Regions from separate parts of the Homo sapiens genome. Here regions 2, 3 and 4 are each linked to region 1. Evidence: promoter capture Hi-C in 16 types of primary human blood cells and fetal thymus (Javierre and others, 2016). All regions are on one chromosome and are shown on one strand. The core of a region is centred on a gene start or on the middle of the fragment in contact, and the rest is flanking DNA. Distances in the headings are between cores, read along the strand shown.

Region 1 (3,666 bases), core at 732-3,231:
TATGTAACAATTATACAAAGCACTTGTCTCTCTTTAGGCATTTTTGTGGTGTGTTTTCAATACAAAATGTAATCCACTAGCTTTGGGGAAAAAAAAAAGGCACGCATTTTCAAAGAATCTTGTGGTATTAAAAAGAATCTTAAGGTTCTATTTTTCTCCTTCAATCTTTGTTACTTTTTGAACTAAATTTCATTTGCCAGGTCTTAAAAACTAAAAGCGTTTTTCATTGTGAAGTTACATGTACCTCTCGTCTTGAAAATCTGACAGACTTGGAAATTTCTATCAACTTTAGTTTTTAAAAATTATGTAAGCACACAAGATTTATATAACAAAGAACAATATTTCACTCTGATGTACAGAAACCTGAGAACTGGGGAAGCAACCCTACTTCTACAAGCAATGGTACCTACAGAATTTACATATATACATAGGGTGGGGTGTAACCCCTCAAAAGGCGCTTTGGGTACTTAGGGATTCAAGCAATAATTTGAAAAACAGAGAAAAAGTACAATTGTCTACCCATACTTACTTGTAAATCTTTCTTCAATTTTAGCAAATCTTCATTTTCTCCATTTCCAGATAATGCAGCTTCAACTTGCTGGAGCTGAGCTTTGTAGCTTGCCAGCTGCTTTGCTAAATCCTCTGACATCTAGGGAAAATAAAAAGGGTTAGACCATGAAAACTAAACCAAAAATCAAGGCATAAAAAACTAACTCCCCTGTCTGCCTGAATTACCAGTTTTTGCCTCTAACTCCTTCTAACACTGCAGCTTAATTTACCACCATTACCTTTACTCTCAGTTTAGACTTCAGCTAAACCACAAACTTAAAGGCAACAGATTCTGAGGATTATAAACTTGAGATACATTCCATACTTTAAAAAAGCATACAGATACAAAGAAATTTCTAATTTTCTTTTAACTCCTATCCACAGGGTAGGTGCTGAATTCGGCTCAATAATCAGTGTTATCTTTTTAAAAAGCACTACTCTGTTGGAAAAGTCGAAACTTTCAAAAACAATCCAAATACTTATTTTTAAGCACTACAGTATGCTTCCAAAGCCAAACAAGTGCGTTTTTAAATTAACTACACAAACTACGATCTTTACTTGAACTATTCAATTAAGAGTGTATTTAAAAGTGCCTCTCCAAAACAAAAATCTTTCGCCCAGTCGCTTAAATATTTATCGGTGCATTATCTTCAGCAAAAAGAACAGCACAGGTACTCTCCCATTTAGGCATTCTAACGAATGTGCCTTTCGCCAAATCCAGCTCAGTCATTTTCCTGAAAATAAGATACCAATTAACCTTTTTTGATGGTTTATAAGCAAATGTACCACGTTTCCGAGGACCCTTCTCCTTCGTAAAATTCCCGTCCAACCAAAGGCTGGGAGCCTGCAAAGGCCCCCTAAGAGTTACAGCGACCCAGGCTGCTCTCCTCCCCGCCACGCAGCACCTCAAAGCCCGCCACAACTCGATCATTCGGACGTGGAAATCCACACGCCAGCTCCAAGACCACCGCCGGAGCCCCGCCGCGCTCCAACAGGCAGGCTCCACAGGGAGCCGCGCGGCGCCCAGCCCCACCCGACCCGGTCCCCTGCGGGCCGTGTTTGCCGCCGCCGCACGGAGGCCAGCGCCGGCCGGGCCGCCGAGGCTCAGCTCTGGCTGAGAGACGGCCGTGGCTCCGGGATCCAGGGCCAGCGCCTGGGCGTCTCCGGCGAGGCGGGCTCCTCAGCCTTGGGCCTCCGCTTCACCTCGGGAGGGACCCGGGCCCGGCCAGGCCTTACTCTCTCCCTCAGGGGGGTTGTTACCTTGTGTGGGGCTGGGGGCGGGGCGGCGGGAAGGGGTCGGGGCAAATGAGCCCAGTGGTAGTGGCGGTGGCAGCAGCAGCAGTAGCAGTAGCAGGAAAATCACCGCGACGACAGCAAGGCGACCCGGTCTGAAAAGGAAGAACTCGGTCGGCGGCGAGGGGGAAGGGAGGAACGCCGGGCACTGGAAGGAGGAAAAGACAGAGACGGTGAAGTCTCGCGAGAAATACAAACTCTCGCGCGAGGTCGCTCGACTCACGTGACTCCGCGCGCCCTCTAGCCAGTCCCTGGCTGTCAGGGACACGAAGTAGGCGGGGCCTAGGAAGGAAATGGCGTAGCTGGGCTTCGCCAGGCGCGGAATGCAGGTTATCTTCCTGGAGTTCCGGCTTGGAATTTATTGGAAATGCAAATTCTCAAGCCCCACCCCAGACCTCCTGAATCCAGAGACTCTTGTTTTAATAAGCTCACCAGATGATACCAATGTCCGCTGACGTTTGAGAACCACTGCTTTTCCGGGGCGGTGGTGGTGGGTGGCGGGGGGTGTTGGTGGGGGCTCTCTTTACGTTGCCCTGGCTGGTCTCCAGCTCCTGGGCTCAAGCTATCCTCCTGCATCGGCATCCCAAAATGCTAGGATTACAGGCGTGAGCCACCGCGCCCAGCCTGAGAACCACTACTTTATATGATACAAGCCTTAGTAGTAACAGAAAGCTAATTAAATCGTGACAGAAATAACCTATTGGAGAGAAGATTGATTTCTTTAAAATCTGTTTTGTTAAAACCTACTTGGTTTTAATTTAGTTGGGTTAATCTCGCCTGATAGGGAACAACGTCCAAGTTAGTCTAGAATGGTAAAGAGTGGTAGGAATACTCACATTTGTGTTCAAAAAGAAATGCCCCTTGTGTATGTTTGTAATAATATATACGCTTTCTGGACGGATACACAAAACTGTTCAGAGGTTTGGAGTGGAAGCCAAATGTTTTATTGATTACCCTCTTTGCTGTTTACCCTTTTTCCTTTTCTTTTTTTTTTAAACCATATATATATAATTTATTTCAATTAAAAAAGCAATAAAGGCCTGAGACACAAAGTTTTATATAGATGACAGGAAGCAACCTTTCCTGGGAGGTTGGGAGTTTGTTGCTGGATCCATAAAAAGGCCCACTTCTCGCGGATCACCTGAGGTCAGGAGTTCGAGACCAGCTCGACCACGTGGAGAAACCCCGTCTCTACTAAAAATACAAAAAAAAAAAACCAACAACAACAACAACAACAAAAAGCCGAGCATGTTGGTGCATTCCTGTAATCCCAGCTGCTCGGGTGGCTGAGGCAGGAGAATCGCTTGAACCTGGAGGCGGCGGTTGCGGTGAGCCGAGATCGTGCCATTGCACTCCAGCCTGGGCAGCAAGAGTGAAACTCCGTCTCAAAAAAAAAAAAAAAGGCCCACTTCTCAGATGGGCTCTTTTGAACTGTGCCAACATCTTTAGTTCCTAGTTTTCTTTTCAAGGAGCCTTCCCTTTTGTTCTCTACACACACACACATAACCCTTGCAGTGAGTCAGATAACCTGTATAGATGGAAACTAGGTCGGGTTTGTGAGTGTGAAAGATTGAAATTGCAGCAGAGGGCAGCAGTGTGTAGCTAGAATTAAGAAGGCAGACAAAACAGAAAGCATGTGCTTTTAAATAAATATTCGTTTAAAATAAAATGTAGTTTTAGAGAACTTCTGTTATTGTAATTGTGTGTTTTAAGAACCGATGCGAGGAGGAACTTCCTTGAATATAAAGTCAACCTTATTGTGTAAAAATCTCTTAAATGAGAACTTTTCCTGAACCCCATAGATCAGAAAATAGGCAAATATTC
Region 2 (3,666 bases), core at 762-3,261, 670 kb after region 1:
GTTTATTTTAAAATCTTTATTTTGCCTTTTTTTTTTTTTGAGGCAGGATCTCACTCTGTTACCCAGGCTTGAGTGCAGTGGTGTGATTATGGCTCACTGCAGCCTCGACCTCCTGGGCTCTAGTGATCCTTCCTCCTCAGCCTCCCGAGTCGCTGGGACTACAGGTGTGTGCACCACACCCAGCTAGTTTTTGTATCTTTTGTAGAGGCAGGGTCTTACCATATTGCCCAGAGTGGTCTTTAAACTCCTGGGCTCAAGCAATCCATCCACCTCAGCCTCCCAGAATGTTGGGATTAAGGGTATGAGCCACTACACCTTGCTGCCTTCGTTTTTGAAAGCTGTTTTTCCTAATATAGCAATGCTAGTTTGAAAGTTTCCTTTTTTCCCCCCTCAGTATTTTAGAGACACCTCTGCATTTTCTTATAGCTTGCCTAGTTTTTGACAAGAAGTCTGCTGTTATTCTGATCTTGGAGTTTATAAGCCTCTTGGATCTGTGGGTTTATGGTTTTCATCAAAATTAGAAAAATTTTGGCCATTATTTCTTGTAACTTTTCCCTTACTTGGTCATTTTTTTTCTATTATCTGAGTCTCTTATTACATGTATATTAGACTTTACATTTTAAGTCATTGATGCTCTGTTTGTCCATGTGTGTCCATGTATATTTTAGATAATTTTATTGCTATTTTTTTGTTGTTGCTGTATATCATTTCTTCTTCAGTGTCTAAATCTTACTGTTCTATACAATGAAGTTTTCATACCAGGTATTTTATTTCTCACCTCTATACATTCCATTGGGTGTCATTTTTATTCAAGTTTTCTTTACCTTGAACATATGGAGCTCATTGTTTAACAGCTTTTTCACTGTCCTTGTCTTATAGTTTCCTCTTTTATTTTTGTTTTTGTTGCTACAGAATGATTTTTCTCCTGGTTGTGGGTCATATTTTCCTGCTTCTTTGCATGTCTGGTAATTTTTTTTTGAGACAGAGTTTTGCTCTTGTTGCCCAGGCTGGAGTGCAATGGTGTGATCTCGGCCCACCGCAGTCTCTGCCTTCTGGGTTCAAGCGATTCTCCTGCCTCCCGAGTAGCTGAGATTAGAAGCATGCACCACCACACCCGGCTAATTTTGTGTTTTTAGTAGAGATGGGGTTTCTCCATGTTGGTCAGGCTGGTCTCAAACTCCCAACCTCAGGTGATCCGCCCGCCTCAGCCTCCCAAAGTGCTGGGATTACAGGCGTGAGCCACCGTACCCATCCTGCATGTTTAGTAATTTTTAATTGGATGTGAGCTTCATAACATTTTCACATTGTTGAGTCTTGGATTTTGTTGTATTCTTTTAATAGTGCTGGACTTTGTTCTGGCATACAGTTAAATTTTTCTGTAGTCAGTTTAATCCTTTCGTGGCTTGCTTTTAAGCTTTGTTATGGTAGTTTTAGTAGCCTTTTGTCTACATCTAATTTAACCCCACTACTAAGGTAATAAATTTTGATGACTCCCTGATAAACTATATATTATGAGGTCTTTTTGTGGCTGGTAGGAATTCACACTATTCACAACCTTGTGTGACTGCTGGGAATTGTTTGGGTTGCTGCTGCTAGGTCTTTGCCTAGCCTTTGGTAGTCTGTTTGTACCTAATGCAGATAAGAATTTAGGCAAACACTGCATAAGACTTTCTTGCAGATTGCACAAATCTATTTGCTGCTCTCTTCTGTCTCCAGTTCTGCCTCCCAAATTCTAACCATCTTGGCTTTCCTAGACTAAAATCGTTTGCCCTAACTTAGTAATAACTATTGGCCCTTGTTCTATATTCCTTCCCTGCTTTTTCTGTGACCTGGAACCTGCCTCCAGGCAGTAACCTGGGGCAATCATGGGACTTCTGTTGTTTTCCTGTGATACAAGGGAATACAGTCATATATGGCTGTTGTCTGCAGTCTGCAAACCATTTTCTCAAACATTTTGTTCATTTTCTAGTTGCATCATGGTGGTAAATAGAAGACAGTCTAGTAATTCTTGATTGGCTAGTATAAATAGCTAATACTGTAACTCCTGTGGATTCCATTATCCTCTGAAAAGTGTTACATTTTGTTCTGCTAGGCGGTTAAATTGCTGTTGAGTCACCTTGACCGTAGAGACTTAGATTTAGCTCTTGTAAGGGTGATGCTATTTGGTTATAGCCTTAAACCTAGGGTAAATTCCTTAGTTTTGAGATGTGATCTTTACTCTCCTATGTTATAGCCCTTTTGGAATTTTGTTTATTACTCTCCAGCAACTTGACAAGACTGAAAATCCAAACTCTTAAAGACCACAGTTGGCAACTGTTGAAATCTCTGCTCAGCTCCTTTAGCCTTCTAGCTGTGGTTCTCCCCTTGGGCTCCTTGCAGTCTCCTCTCCCACATGTATTTTCGGAGTCAGCAAGAATTTGAGGAGTGTGTATTTGAAGATTTTAGGGCTCTGCTCTTTGTGATTTCCTCCTTTACAGAGTATCCAACCTTGAATTCCAGTCACTCTTATAACCCTGAACTCTGTCCTTTGGCTTCTTAGGCAGTAGGACTCTGGCCTTCGACTTGAGATTTACTTTTCACCTGCAGATTTTTTAGTTACTTCATGGTAAAAGCTTTATAAAAAGGCATTTATGAAAGTAAATCTCATGTGATTGCTGTATTAGTTATCTATTGTTGTGTAACAAATTACTCTAAAAGATAACTCTTATAACAACAATCATTTGTTATCTTATAGTTTCTTTGTTTTGGGTATCAGGCACAACTTAACTGGACCTTCTGATTTAGTGTCTCTCACAAGGTTTTTCAGTTATAGTGTTAGCCAGGGCTTGGGAAGACTCATCTGGGAAAGGATACACATCCCAACTCATGTAGTTTTTGTTAGGACTTAGTTCCTAGCAGGTTGCTGGAGAGAGGGCTTCAATTTCTTGCTGTTGGCTGGAGACTGCTCTTAGTTCCTTTTCACATGGGTCTTTTCAACATGGCAGCTTGCCTTATCAAAGCGTGTAAGCTAAGACATCAATAAAGTGCTAGCAAGGTGGAAGTCAGAATCTTTTGTAACTGAATCACAAATGTGACATCCCATCACCTTTGCCATATTCTGTTGGTAAGAAGCAAGTCACTAAGTTTAGCCCACACTCAAGGGGAGGGGTAATTATATAACGTATACAATTATTCATGAGGCAGGGCCATTGGGGGTTATCTTAGAAGTCTGCCTATTACAGTTCTCTTCTTTTAAGGGTAAATTCCCTCTAGTTTTAACTTTGGTCTCCCTGTATGCCTTTAAGTATTTTATCCACAGTTTTAAATTATCAACACGACTTCACCACCCTTAGCCAGAGCTCAGTGTTTGCAGATGTTAAATCCAGCTTTCTCTTAGGACAAAAATGTTCTACCATGATAACATTTTCTTCATCTTTTTCCCCCATAGTTAGCCACTAAATATTTTACGTAGATGTCTCACTGATATCTTAAATTCTTCATGACCAAACTGTAACTTCAGCTCAACTTTTCTTCCTTGTGGATTCCATTCCTCTCTCATAATTGCATCTTATCTTCTCTATCAACCCAAGCTCAGTATCTTCGGATCAGAGAATTTTGTTGTTGTTCTGATTCTAGTCAAGGTGTAGCCTACTCACTAGACAGGTACTGGGCCACCAACTGTTTGTT
Region 3 (3,666 bases), core at 411-2,910, 550 kb after region 1:
ACCAGTTAGAATGGCAATCATTAAAAAGTCAGGAAACAACAGGTGCTGGAGAGGATGTGGAGAAATAGGAACACTTTTACACTGTTGGTGGGACTGTAAACTAGTTCAACCATTGTGGAAGTCAGTGTGGCGATTCCTCAGGGATCTAGAACTAGAAATACCGTTTGACCCAGCCATCCCATTACTGGGTATATACCCAAATGACTATAAATCATACTGCTATAAAGACACATGCACACGTATGTTTATTGCGGCATTATTCACAATAGCAAAGACTTGGAACCAACCCAAATGTCCAACAATGATAGACTGGATTAAGAAAATGTGGCACATATACACCATGGAATACTATGCAGCCATAAAAAATGATGAGTTCATGTCCTTTGTAGGGACATGGATGAAATTGGAAGCCATCATTCTCAGTATACTATCGCAAGAACAAAAAACCAAACACCGCATATTCTCACTCATAGGTGGGAATTGAACAATGAGATCACATGGACACAGGAAGGGGAATATCACACTCTGGTCTGGGGACTGTGGTGGGGTGGGGGGAGGGGGAAGGGGGAAGGGATAGCATTGGGAGATATACCTAATGCTAGATGACGAGTTAGTGGGTGCAGCGCACCAGCATGGCACATGTATACATATGTAACTAACCTGCACAATGTGCACATGTACCCTAAAACTTAAAGTATAAAAAAAAAAAAAAGTTAAAAAAAAAAAAAAACAACCAAGAAAACACAGGCTCCAGGAGGAGCTCTAAGGGATTTTTATCTGAGTAAAGGGGATAGACTGATAAGAGAGGTCATTTCTTCTGCTCGTTCACAGGTCTTTTGAGATTTTCTTTGCTTTCACACTGATGTGGTTTTACTGCACTAGCTCCATTTTACGGATGGGGACATGGATGCCAATAAGACAAGATGACTCAGTCAAGGCCACATGGCAAGTGAGTGGGTGTCTTCCTCCATCCATGGCCCTGTCAGTTTTGGCTTGGATGAGCCAAGTGGTAGAAGCGTGACTGGGGCAAAGCTCACCAGCACCTCTCCTGGACTTTTCTTCAGAAGAGAGGGTCAGCAGTAGCCCCTCTGGGAGGTTTAAACAACTCCATGATACACCTGGATCCCTTCTGCTAATGCAGCAGGCCCCTTCATTTCCAGAAATTAGAGCTTGCCAAACAGCTGTGTTTACATTCAGAGCCGTAGTTTATCGCTGCTGGTCCTGGAAGGGATTGTTCAAGCTTATCTTCTCTAGATAGCAACGTGCTGAGGGTTGCACAATTCTGACCTAGATTGAAATCAGCTGCAAAACACCTAGTCCTGAACACACACACGCACACGTCTCAGGAGACTCAAGGCACTGCAACTCACTGACACATTCTCTCCTCAACAGGCCAACTCTCTCCCATAATCCTGGGACCTGGGCCAAGGCAAGGCGGTACGGCAGCAAAGGTCCCAGGGGACTTTGTTGAGGCAGGACTGTTTCCCTGAGCTGGGTGCCGGCCTCCTGCCCCATGTGCCTCATTCTCTTGTCTTTCATGCAGGGAGACAGCTGGGTGAGAGGGCACAGAGAAGAAAGACAGTAGGCATCATGCTGCAGAAGATTCAGGGCCAGAACAAAGGGCAGCCATTGACAGCTGCACATTTTATGCAAATCTTGAACGGTTTCATCCAGGGAACAAAACCCTTGTGAAAATGGTGGAAAAGGGCCCTTTCCCTTTTAGAAATTCTACGGTCTGACTACTCCAGATGGTAGAAGACTAACAAAAAGCTCCAGCCCCCATGGCTCTGATCTGCCCACTGCCTGGTCAGAAACCTTTAAGAGCTTTCAACAGTTGGCCCTATAAAGTCCAAACTCATTCAAGACTCTTTATGGACTGGCCACATCTTTAGCTCCCTCCCAGCCCAGAGTCACCCTCTGCCTGCTCTCAACCTTCCTGGTCTTTTATCTGTACCCCTCCTTGTGCACTTATCACTTTCCACTATGTACAATGGTTGTTTTTATGAGTCTTATCATTCCTGCTGGCCTAGTCTATCAGTTCCTTAAGGGCAGGGCCTATGCTTGTTTATCTTTGTACGTTGAAGCTTTAGTATGGTATGCATTATGGGGTGCCCAATAAAATTTATTGAATTAAACCAGGGACTCTCCCACAGGGATGAACTTACCTTGAGAAAGACATCTAAATTCCTCACTGAACCCAGGAGCAGGAAGGACACCTTCACCCCAGCCTGCATAGGAAGTGTTTCAGATAGTAATCTCAAGGTCATGTGGTCCAACTCTTCTATTTCAGGAGATGAAGAGACTGAGATCCAAGTGTTGGGCTAGGGACAGTAGATGTTATGAGTTTCATCTATAGGTGAGGGAGCTGAGGCTCTGGCAGCAGAAGTCACTTTCTCTTTTTTTTTTTTTTTTTTTTTTTTGTGATGGACTCTTGCTCTGTTGCCCAGGCTGGAGTGCAGTGAAATGATCTCAGCTCACTGTAACCTCTGCCTCCTAGATTCAAGCAATTCTCCTACCTCAGCCTCCTGAGTAGCTGGGATTACAGGCATGTGCCACCACGCCCAGCTAATTTTTGTATTTTTAGTAGAGACAAGGTTTCATCATGTTGGCCAGGCTGGTCTTGAACTCCTGACCTCATGATCCACCTGCCTCGGCCTCCCAAAATGTTGGGATTACAGGCATGAGGCACCGCGCCCGGCTAGAAGCCACTTTCCTAATGTCAGGAAGGTAGAAGGTGGTAGATTTAAAGGGATTTAAAGCAGGGTCTGCCTGACTCAGAAGCTTATTTTCTGTTGTGAAGGAGCCCACCTACAGCCTCCGCCCCTGAACATCCAGCTGCCCTGCTGGTTTCCCAGAACAGGACTCTGTCTGGCCAAGCCCTGGGGCTGGTTGGACACTGAGGTAGGCAGCACCTGGCTTGGGTGCATTTGGAGCTCCATGGCTGGAGAAGCTGTTTATGAACTCTGCCCATCCAAGGCCTGGCAGCACAGCTACCCCAGCTGGGTCTTTTCACAGAAGGCCTGTCGGGCAGGTCCTAGAACATCACACAGAGCCTTTGTCCAGAAGGCATGGTGTTTTCCAGTGAGAAGTTTGCATTGCCTACACTGGCAGGAGGCAAGGGAAGTGGAGACCACCAGCCTTTTGCCAGCAGGAGTCTGCTCCCAGAGGGAAAAGGGGAGGAGAGGGAGCTCAGGCCAAGAAGGACCCAAGTGGAAACTCGAGAGGGAAATGGCCTCGGCAGTATTTAGGGCAGTAGATTGGGAACTCCTTAAGAGCTGGAATTGAGTTTTGTGTTGAAACAGCTCAGGCTAATTTCAAATCTCAAGCCTGCCCTTTACTGCTTGTGAGGCCTTGGGCGATTTTTTTGACCTTTCTGAACCTTAATTTCCTCATTTGTTGTGTGAGGGGGATAATAGCAGTATCTTGCTGGATGTGATGAGGATCAGAGACCAAGGAGTACGCAGGCACACAGCAGTCACTCAATAAATGGTGGAGTCCACATACATTTTTGTAAGCATTCCTTCTGTTTCTGGATTTATGAACTGATAAAAGGCCAGGGCTGCAGAGGACACCCAGGCAATGGTGTCACATGACTGTTAACTGAGAAAAGGAAACGAAATTACCAGGAGTAAACCCACATTTAGAGGAACTTTGGCCCAGAAACAG
Region 4 (3,666 bases), core at 622-3,121, 520 kb after region 1:
AAATAGGCTAAGCCCCGTCTTCTCTGCCAAGTGGAACTTAAGATCCATCAGGGGGTTTGGGGGGAGGGAGAGAGAGTAGCCTTTAAGATTCTCACTGTGAAAATAATTAGGGATTTGCTTTACAGAAAGCCTGTAGCACACCAGAGGTTGAAGTGAGAGTCAGGGGCAGAAAATACAGAGGAAAGGCTTAAAAATGAACATTTCAACCCAGGGCCCTGTGGGTGGCATGAGCTGTTAGGTAACTGGGAGGCTTGGGATTTTTTCCATGTCAAGCTGACCTGAGCTGTTTTTTACCTGCACGGATCTGAGTTTCCATGGAAACCCCGCCGTGAAATGCCTTCTTGTTGCTAGAGAAACCGTGAGGCCCAGGCTCTGTCTAGAGAAGGCAAGAATAAAGGAGGAGTGAAATCTTCACCTCACTCCAATCAAGCCCCTTTTATTTTGCGGTATAGGTCTCAACATGTGCCAGTGTTAGAGGCTCATTAACTGACCCAGTGTTTGGGGTTCATATTTAATAACAGCTTGACAAGCTTGGGGAGAGAATGGCATTGCCTGTTTTGCTAGCCTCGGTGGACGTCAGCACAATTTTTGCCCGTCAGTAATTCCTCTGCCTGCAGAGATGGAATGATACTGAGATGGGAGGCATGGGGGGTGGGGGGTGGATCTTCTCAACTGAAGGCATCAGCAGCCCATCCCCCTGGGCCAAATGCAAACATTTGCCAAGTTTTATTGTGTGTGGCATTCTTTTGGCAGTGGAAAAAGCTCCTAATGACAGTGCTTTGGTTCTAATTAGCAACCATTGCCCCAGCCTTATGTGATTAAGCAGTCCAAGGAACAATTCCCAATCATACTATGCAGGCATAGAATTTCAGGGACTCTTTGAGGCATGTTGTATTTCTTTTTTTTTTTTTTTTTTTTTTTTTTTGCCTTGGTTCATGTTTTGCAGAAAACTCCAGGTACGTGGAAATGAAATCTCTGGAGGTGAGGTCACCAGAGTACACTGAAGTGGAACTGAAACAGCCCCTTTCTTTGCCCTCTTGGGAACCAGAGGATGTGTTCAGTGAACTTAGCATTCCTCTAGGTAAGCAAAACACACAGTCTTTCCTGAAATTCAGGTCTAGGAAATAACAGTTCCATAGCAACCTCAAGAGCTTGAGAGAGCTTTTTGGCATTTTGTTGTTGACATCGTTTTTTGTTCTTTTGAGACAAGGTCTCACTCTGTCACCCAGGCTGCAGTGCAGTGGCATGATCTCAGCTCACTGCAGCCTCAAATTCCTGGGCTCAAGTGATCCTCCCACCTCAGCCTCCTGAGAAACTTGGACAACAGGTACACACCACCAGGCCCGGCTAATTTTTTTAATTTTTTTTTTTTTTGCAGAGATGGGGTCTCCATATGTGGCCCAGGCTGGTCTTCACCTCCTGGGCTTAAGTGATCCTCCTGCCTCAGCTTCCCAAAGTGCTGGGACTACAGGTGTGAGCCACTTCACCTGGCCGGCCTATCGTTATTTTAAGTGTATGATGCAATAACCTAGATTTGCAAGGGGCGGCTGTAAACTTTCTTGCAATTTCAGTCTCCCGTAATAGACCAGATACTCCGTGAAAACAGCCTTGAATAACAGTGCCCTGGGACCCAGAACTAAGAAGTCCTGTTTTTCCTGTCAGGGAATGCTTTATTCTTGATGACATGGAGTCTTTAAGCCTAGCCTTTATTCAGGCAGGAAAGCAGATGCCCAGCAGCCTCCATAAAGTCAACAAAAATGAACTTCGTCTGCTATTGTTCATTGCTCCAGTCCTTCCCAGAACAATGCTACATATTTTTTTCTCTTTAAAGGACCAACTTTTCTGAGGCAATGATGCTGAATAGAATGTGTTTGGGGCAGACTACCCCTAGTTCATAGAAAGGGTATTGAACAGGGAGACCTGGGTTTCTGTTCTTCCTACTTATGGGTGACTGTGTGCCCTCAGGTAAGTCATACCCCTTCTTGAGCCTTAGTTTCCTCTCTGTAATTTAGACAGCGATTTTTTCAATGGTGGAAGTGTTGGGAATGAAGTGGGGAGGGAGTTTACTGATGGAATCACCTAGGAATGAATCCCTTTTCAAAGAGAAGAGTTAAGCAGAGTCTCAGGGTAGGGAGTGAAGGCACTTTAAGAAAGTTCCCTGGGAGATTCTGACACAACCACTAACCCAGCAACTCCAGCCTACATCATCTTTGAGTCCCCTCGCATTAGCTCTGAAAGGTCGGAATTAGATAAAGTAGTAGTAGCAGCTGCTCAGAAGGAGAGCTCAGGAAAGTGTCACCTGGGAAAGTGTCACAAGGAAGCATAAAAAGCACGGGTCATCTGATGCCTGATGACCACGTGTCTGATCATGCAGGGAGGGGCTGGTCAGTGTGGAGGCTCGTCCTTTCCATCCAACTTGCTCTTTTTTTCCCTTCTCCTTTAAAAAAATCTCTTACTATTTCTTTCCTCCAGGTGTACCATTTTTATAGTCAGATCTGGAGAGCAAACTTCCTTTTTTTTTTAAGGGATAAATTTGCTGCACAGCATCTCCCAAGACAAAAACATAAGAAAGAAGGAAAAAGAAATACTAACTTTAGAATAAACTGAGATGACCCTGGGTATTTTAGCTCTAGAAAACAGTTGCAAAGGCCACCCTGCAGGAGAAGAGAGGGCTCCTTCATGCATTCAGTCAGTCAGCAAATACTTACTGGATAACATGGTACTGTGCTAGACACTCTGGGGTAACCAAGAAATATAACGCAAGTCTCTTGTCATCCAAGAACTTGGAACCTAATTGATACTAGCAAAAATTAAGAATAAATTCTGCTACCTTGTAATTTGTGTTTTACTACTGTTTTTCATTATAGAAAGTGTGAAAGATTATTGTAACAAATTCAAAAAATAAGAACCATATCAAGTCAATATTAAAGGTCTGATTGATCTCTTCCCTCCAGTCTCTCCCCAGTCTCCAGAGGTAGCCTACCACTGTCATGCCCAGTTTTTCTCTCACAAAAATGGGATCACACTACACACATAATGTTCTGCAAGTTCACTTAGTAGCAGGTCTTAGACATTTCTTCATGTCAGTACATAGAGAACACATTCTTTTTAACCACTGCAAATATTCCATCGTAAAAGCTATGCTATAAATGACTGATCTTTCCTCTGCTGGTGAACAGTTAGGCTGTCTGCTCTTTTTCCCATTTTAATAGCTAAGCTTTTATTGTTAACATTCCCCATGCAGGCACCATCCCTAGGGATCTGTATGTATTATCACATTTAACCCTCTCAAAACACCTATGAGGTAGGTGCTGTTTTTATCCTTATTTAACAGATAAAAAATCTGAAATGCAGAGTCACACAGCTAATAACTGGCAAAAACCAGAGTCAGGTTCAAATCCCAGTCATCTGACTCTAGAGCCATGTTCTTAGCTTCTGTTCTCTGCTGCCTTTCAGATGTGCTTGTTCAGTGGTATGTGTATGCCAGTGTTCCTGTGGGAGAGCGTCCTAGCCAGGGGGTTGTAGGGTGGTATGTATTTGCATTTTAAATTTTCATAATTGCTACTAAATTGCACTCCAAAAAGATGGTATCAGTTTTCCCTGCGACCTTGAGTGAGAGTTCCCAATATCCACCTCCCATTGGATTTTATCAGTTTTTAATCTTTC

Evidence for each region. Contacts are between HindIII fragments. The CHiCAGO score rates a contact against its expected background, and 5 or more counts as called.
Region 2: a fragment that was not itself captured here is called in contact with the fragment with the promoter of SMNDC1 in region 1 in 4 of 17 cell types (activated CD4 T cells, monocytes, fetal thymus and 1 more); the score reaches 6.9 in activated CD4 T cells.
Region 3: a contact is called between a fragment that was not itself captured here and the fragment with the promoter of SMNDC1 in region 1, in 14 of 17 cell types (fetal thymus, M1 macrophages, M2 macrophages and 11 more). The highest score is 17.9, in fetal thymus.
Region 4: a fragment that was not itself captured here is called in contact with the fragment with the promoter of SMNDC1 in region 1 in 5 of 17 cell types (naive B cells, M1 macrophages, M2 macrophages and 2 more); the score reaches 7.4 in naive B cells.

What each region holds. Positions count from the first base shown.
Region 1 is chr10:110,302,939-110,306,604 of GRCh38, forward strand. SMNDC1 (survival motor neuron domain containing 1) reads right to left here and starts at 1,982. Exons shown (of 6, transcript NM_005871.4): 1 at 1,810-1,982; 2 at 530-649. The coding sequence starts at 649. RefSeq lists a silencer at 1,494-1,813. The HindIII fragment of the contact is 6,895 bases long and covers 1-3,666 here.
Region 2 is chr10:110,976,291-110,979,956 of GRCh38, forward strand. The region is part of intron 2 of SHOC2 (SHOC2 leucine rich repeat scaffold protein); the gene reads left to right. Among named protein-coding and RNA genes, the nearest start is that of MIR548E, 11 kb to the right of the region's middle. The HindIII fragment of the contact is 1,198 bases long and covers 1,413-2,610 here.
Region 3 is chr10:110,856,471-110,860,136 of GRCh38, forward strand. LOC124902499 (a long non-coding RNA gene) reads right to left here and starts at 2,387. Exons shown (of 2, transcript XR_007062287.1): 1 at 2,166-2,387. RefSeq lists a cis regulatory region at 1,115-1,484 and enhancers at 1,320-1,449, 1,490-1,619, 2,905-3,404. The HindIII fragment of the contact is 844 bases long and covers 1,239-2,082 here.
Region 4 is chr10:110,822,534-110,826,199 of GRCh38, forward strand. It overlaps RBM20 (RNA binding motif protein 20), which reads left to right. Exons shown (of 14, transcript NM_001134363.3): 12 at 947-1,081. Among named protein-coding and RNA genes, the nearest start is that of PDCD4-AS1, 47 kb to the right of the region's middle. The HindIII fragment of the contact is 2,687 bases long and covers 529-3,215 here.